Regions from separate parts of the Homo sapiens genome. Here region 2 is linked to region 1. Evidence: promoter capture Hi-C in 16 types of primary human blood cells and fetal thymus (Javierre and others, 2016). All regions are on one chromosome and are shown on one strand. The core of a region is centred on a gene start or on the middle of the fragment in contact, and the rest is flanking DNA. Distances in the headings are between cores, read along the strand shown.

What was found. Contacts are between HindIII fragments. The CHiCAGO score rates a contact against its expected background, and 5 or more counts as called.
Region 2: a contact is called between a fragment that was not itself captured here and the fragment with the promoter of GIMAP4 in region 1, in 4 of 17 cell types (total CD4 T cells, naive CD4 T cells, M0 macrophages and 1 more). The highest score is 6.1, in total CD4 T cells.

Annotation. Positions count from the first base shown.
Region 1 is chr7:150,565,892-150,569,379 of GRCh38, reverse strand. It overlaps GIMAP4 (GTPase, IMAP family member 4), which reads right to left and starts at 1,990. Exons shown (of 3, transcript NM_018326.3): 1 at 1,943-1,990. The HindIII fragment of the contact is 6,433 bases long and covers 620-3,488 here.
Region 2 is chr7:150,876,310-150,879,525 of GRCh38, reverse strand. It overlaps LOC105375567 (a long non-coding RNA gene), which reads left to right and starts at 2,396. Exons shown (of 5, transcript XR_928171.3): 1 at 2,396-2,517. The HindIII fragment of the contact is 2,523 bases long and covers 622-3,144 here.

The sequences.
Region 1 (3,488 bases), core at 741-3,240:
TCATCTACAACTCTTTTATCCTCTCTCTCTCATCAGCCCATCACCAAATCCTATTGATTCCACTTCCAAAAAACTCGAAATTACCCATTTCTCTCCATCTTTGTGCTAATACAACCCACTGTCAATTGTATACAACTTAACAGGCTTCTAATTGATCATCTCCCCTTCAATCCCTTTTCTACTCTACAATCAGATGTTCTTTTAAAACTAAAATTTGATATTTTTTCTTGTTTAAATTTCCTAGTGGCTTACTATTGGTTTCAAAATAACTGAAGTCCTCAGAATGGCCCATAGGCCCTGTGTGATCAGCTCTCTCCTCTCTCCTATGTGTGAGCCACACTACCCTCAATGTTCTGGAAATCTAGGCTCCTTCCACCTTCAAGGCCTTTGCAGTTATCATTCCTTCTCTTTGGAGCACTCACCCTCCAACCTAGTGCCCAGCTTGTTCCTGCTCAACCCGCAGGCCTCGGCTCTCCAGAGAGTCTTCCCCAACACCACTGTCTACCAGCAACACCCTCTGTTATGATCCACTGCACCCCAGAGGCTTCTTACAGAATATGTATTACTTTAGGAAGTTAATTGCTTGATTTTTTTACTGTCTCCTCTTATACTACAAGCTTTGTGATGAGAAGACCACATATGTCTTGTATTTCTCATTATTCCCTGGGGACAAGCACAATACTGGGCAAAGAATGGTTATCGATCATTGTTAAATAAATAAATGGATAATCTCCCTGCTTCTTGCCTTTGATTGATCATTATGTCCAGCCCACATCTGATCTGTGAAAATGACAATCCATTCCTTTATTAATTAATATGTAGTGTTATAGAAACATGGTATTAATTTTAAATGTTTTATTTCATTGCTACCTACAAACATTTTGCAATGGAGAAAGATATTTGAAGAACTCTTATTGGAGCAGACTTTGAACAAAACAGGCAGAAAATGGTAGTTGTTAAAGACAGAGTCACCTCATAGGAAGCCAACAAATATGAAACACTGTGAAAAGCCAGATATTTCTTTTGAATGACTATTTCTTTATCCTTCAAGAATAGGGTATAGGAAACAGCTTCTTGTAAACAAGAGAAATCATGGCATTTTTTAAAAATCAGCTTTGGTGGCTGGTGTTAGGAGAGAGGATAGGACACCAGCAAGAAGAAAACAATACTGTGACATTCTGGGTTTTTGTGACATTCTCTGGGTGTTTCTTCATATCCTCCTTCTAGTGTGTGGGCTCTTTAATGCTGCTCTGCTGTTAATAATTCAGAGGCAAAGCCAGGAGACTGTGCTTCTGTAGGTGCTGACTTCAGGTGGCTGAATTCTCCTCTCTCTGCCTAAGGAACAAGCACCCATCAGCATCCAGCTTCTCCTGAACTGTAGAGAGTCACACCAGGTGGCATCTCCCTCCTCCTACCCGCTAAAGGGGAGCTCAATGCCCAGTAAACCCAGGACTGTCCCTGAGGAGACAGTTTCCCTAACGGGCAGCTCCGAGCAGACAGTTAACCCTGTAACAAGACCTCAGACTGCAGAGCCTCCAATCCTGACCTGGGTGCAGTCTTTGTGGGGCCACATATGGAGCTGTGCCCCTTACACATCCCAATGTTCCTCTTCCCACCAGCTCCCCCAGAGCTAATTCTGTCCGCTCACCCAACTTTATCCCTGGAAGAATCAAAGTTTCTATATAAATTCCACAACCAGCGAGAGGAAACATTTATTTGTAAAACAAGTATCCTCTGAGCAGCAATCTCTGGAAGAGGCATTGATTTGTAGGGCTCAGCCTTGAAAACAGATCACAGCCTAAAATTAGCAAAGCCAGGAAACGGGAACCAGCGAGAATATAGTCTGAAAACATGTTTACCAGACGATTTAAGATACAGGTCCCTCCTCACCAAAATCGCACATTCGTCCCGACCCCCACCACACACACCCCTATTCCCTTACCTGAAAAATCAGGATCTTGCACCCCTCTCTGATTTTGCACACAATACTAAGCCAGGATGTTGAGAAACAGGAGAAGAGAGGAAGTGAGGGGAGGAGCTGTCCAGATTTACTTGTGCAAGGGACCTGCCCACCTGATCATCCAGCAGCTCTAATAGAACTTTCTGCAGGGATGGGGTTGTTCTGTGCTGTCCAAGATGGTGACCCTTAGCCACACGTGACTACTGAGCGCTTGAAATGTGACGAGTGTGATTGCAGTTCTGAATTTTAAATTTTATTTTGTTTCAATTTATTTAAAGTTAAATAGCTACTCCATTGTCAGAATTCTAAAAGGCAAAGTCAGGCAGAACAACTTGCACCAGGCATTTTCCCCAGAAGGAAAGAAGGAATATTCAGCTTGGTATGCCTGGTGGCTACCATACTGAACCTTGCAAAGGCTCTGCAGTGAGACAAAAAACATGGGTCATGCTGTGACATTCTGGAAGAAACTTCTGGGCCAAAACTAGAGAGTTATCAGTTATTCTGAAAGACCCTTGAGCCCCTGAACCCCTGCTCAGCACAACAGGCCTCCCAGCTAAGCCCCCATACCCCTTTCTCCCAGTACCTCAGGTATGTCCTCTGAGTCCACAGTGTGTCCTTATTTCCAGGGTATGTCCATGAGTCATCTGCTAGAAGCAAAAGAGAGTAAATGACTTTCACTGGACTGACTAGGATGGGCCCAAAATTCACCTCCTGAGATGGTCCTGGAACCACTGAAATATTCTAAACACTGACATCTGACACTACTTACCACTAAAATGGAAACTTTGAGAGTATTGTAATGGGGTCCCAGCTCACCGTTATAACCAGTTATTTTTCCATTGTAAAAGGGGTCTCAATTTACCATTATACCCCACAGCTGAGACCTTATTTAGAATTACATAGCACTTTAGTAATTATAAAATTGCTAATAATTCTAAAGAGAACTGTAAGAGAAAGACATACATTTCTTTGAGGATAGAATGTGATTGGCCCTGGGTATACAAGCACAGGATGGCTACACTAAAAAGCAGAACAAGGCAATGGAATACATCTTGCACCAACAGTAAGGATAATTTACATTCCAGAGCAACATGACTTAAATAACAAAGACCACTTGGTCCCTTGGTTTGACAGGCAAACGAAGGCAAGTCCAAAAGAACAGGCAGCATGAGAAAGCATCTCCGCGATTCTGAACTGAGATACCTTAAAAGACTAGGATTATATTTTGTTTCTGAAGCCTAAACCTGGCTAGAAGGTATATATTATTCTATTTAATTACAGAAATTGATGCAAAATATAGTATTTATTTTTAGTACTATTAAAGCACTGGATCATTACTTAGGGAATCTTTATTCAGGTTACAGGGATCACTGCAGTAGGAAAGTTCTCTGTTAGGGACTACATTTGCAGTGAGCACCACGTTTCATCTAATGCTTTAACAATAAAGCAATGTGTAGACAAAAATGTCTACATTAAAGATCCAGAAATGAAAACAATAATTTGTGATACCACATTAAAAATTTAGAAA
Region 2 (3,216 bases), core at 634-3,133, 310 kb before region 1:
AGTGAGTTGGGGGGATGGAGGAGAGAGGAAGTGAGTCATGGCTCAAGTGTCATAGATTCTCATTGTTCTTATTGGGAACAATTTCCAGAGACTTTAAATGCTTAAAAATCATTTAACTAGATATAAGTGTTTTGCTGGGGAGCAGGTCTGCAGAGCTCCTCATACAATCATTCTGGAAGTGGTCTCTGCTTTTTTCTCTTCCTTCTTTTTTCTTTCTTCCCTTTCTTTTTCTTTCTGTGTGTAGTTTCTGTTTTGTTTTGTTAACCTATGGATCAACAGCAGAAGATGTCAGATGTAAGAAATGATGGTAGGACGTGGGATGCTATTAGTAGGTATATCAGCTAATGTTGAAGACACTACTCTTAAATCAAGGAAAATATGATCAGAATAATAAATTTTTAAAGTATAGTGAACAAATTCTTCAGTAAGGCTGAAGGTTAAAAGTAAAAAGTTTCAAAGCAATACTTTTCTTGGCTCTTCTTTATAATAATTTATTGTCTAGTGAGCTACTAACCCTTTTTCTTTATGACTTGATTGCCCCCGTATGCTAAAATACTTGCTGTTTTACTTTTCCTTTCATTGACATTTACAATCCTTTGTCTTTTAGTAGTTTCACAAGCTTTGAAACAATGTTTAGATAATTTTAAAAAATAAAAATAAAACAATGCTAAGGGTACAATCATTGATGTTTTAAATATATCAGCTGCTATAAGGCACTTTGTCCAATTTTCATAATAATTTTGTCTTAATGGTGTTAAGAGCAAAGATTTAAGATTTACTTTCTTAGTGCCATAAAAATAAGAGCTATTCAGCTGGGTTTCTGAAATATTAAGTGCAATGCAAAAGTTTGTTTGCCTAATATCCCTGGACACCAGGCTTCCCAAAATATCCTGCCCCAGACCATAGCCACATCTTCCCACTAGATTCCTGGGCAACTAGAAACAATGGTAAAGGAAAACAAGGTCACACAATTTTTTTTGAGATGGAGTCTTGCTCTGTCACCCAGGCTGGACTGCAGTGGCGCGATGTCGGCTCACTGCAAGCTCAGCCTCCCTGATTCACACCATTCTCCTGCCTCAGCCTCATGAGTTGCTGGGACTACAGGCGCCCGCCACCACGCCCAGCTAATTTTCTTTTCTATTTTTCGTGGAGATGGGGTTTCACCATGTTAGCCAGGATGGTCTTGATCTCCGACCTCGTGATCCACCCGCCTCGGCCTCCCAAAGTGCTGGGATAACAGGCGTGAGACACTGTGCTCGGCTAAGGTCACACTAATTGTTAGCTGGGAGTGGACCCCAAACCTGTTGAAAGAACCCATCAGCTTTCCTTTAAGAAGGTAATGCCACAGACCACAACAGATAATTGAGGGTTATTCTGTGAGCTTCCACTAAAGCTAAAACATGTGTGGAAGGGACAGAAGAGAGGATAACAGGTTTGCTGGCCTGTTTACCACTTGGGGACGTTTGGATGGATGATGAAGAAGAAAAAGAATCAAAAGGACTGGGGCTCATCACAGGTGGGAATAGTATAATATTAGCTCTTCATTCAGAACCATGGTAGCAAAAAGAGAGAAAACTGCATCTGTGGACTGAATTATTCCCCTCAGCCCTCTACCCCAGTGTGTCTTCTTTTTGGGAATAGAGTAGAAAGCCAGGAAAATGGTGGGGATCTAGGAGGAAGCAGGCATCTCCTCTGACTTGCACGTCCCCCTGTTTCACTGTCCTTTGTTAACTCACTGTGTTTGACAGCCACATCTGTGGTCAGCCAGGGGTGCAGCTGCTCCTACTGGTAGCTAATGGCCATAGAACACCAGGGGCGTCTTAAAGCCCCTTCTGTGATCCGCACCACTGCTCCTGGGTATACTCCCAGGGTCTGTTATATGGGTAACATGCACCTCGCAGCAAGATCTCCTGAAATGGGTTAGGACAGGAATATTAGGTAATTGCAAACCCATACTTCCCACCATTCTTGTCTTCAATTATGGCCAATTACATAGTTACGGCAGCCTTGTATTGTTACAATACAATCTTCCTCTATGCTTAGGAACCTCTATGGAGATGGTTGTGTTACTTCAACCAAAGACAAGAAGAGACTAATCTGCAGAATTAGAACAATTCCCTAGTTCTTCAACAAATCAGTGCTGCTTTTCTTGCCAATAATAGACGTGTTTGTATTTCTCCGTGGAAACCCTTGGGGTAAACATGTTGCTTGTTCTTCCAATAAAGAATTGAACCACCAGAGGGCCTCAGGCGACTCAGGAGGTTTGGGAAGAGACAAAGGCACATGCTTAGAGGGTCTGGAGAAGGCGAGGAAGAAGGAAGGGAGCCAAGTAAAACATGTGACTGACCAGGGGCTTTGGAGAAGACAAGCCCTGCAGGAAGGCACGCATGTGGTCATTCTGTCTGTAGCCTCCCATTCCTCCCTGCTTTCCCCAGCTGCATCTACCTGGATCCTGAATTTGAACCAAGTGGTCCAAACGGCCCGGTCACCTGAGCAACCCCTCTGCAGGAACCGCAGGTGTGGGCGGGGTGGTGGGGAGGAGGCGGGGGGGTGGGGGAAAGGCGGGGGGTGGGGGGAGCTCAGCGGCGCCATCTAGCGTCCAGACAGCGGTGGCTCTGGGAAAGCTGATTGTTTTCTTAGCCAGAGGAGGAAGAGAAGGTTGGTCCTCAGCGCCTGGACGCCTGGTAGACGATAGGGGATGACATGATGAGTAAAATAAGGACAGGAACACGCCGAATCCCCTTTCATAATGATAGGACCACGCCAAATCCCCTTTCTTTTTAAAATTTGACATATACCCTTGAATATATATGTATTCTTATAAAATATGGTTATCTGGTATGTATTTATGTATATTGATATAAAGCTGCAGATTTAAAAATAGTACTTCTTTCATCTCTCTCCATCTACATAGTCTTCGTGGTTTTCAGTAAAATGATAATTTCTGGATTACTTAGATGTAGTTATTATGATCCAACCCTTGAATAAGGGGAGTTGAGAGTTGGTGAAACATCCCTGTCTCAATATTTGTTCATGCCATATTTCCTTTGAAAGAATTTACAGATAAAGGCATCAAATACCTGAAAAAGTAACAAGTTTACTATATTTTACTTGAGAATTTGTATATATATTTTTAAGAAAGCTTTTTAGTTTTGGCGTAATTATAAACTCACAAGAGGTAGCAAAAAGAGTACGGAGTTCTGTGAACCTTCAACT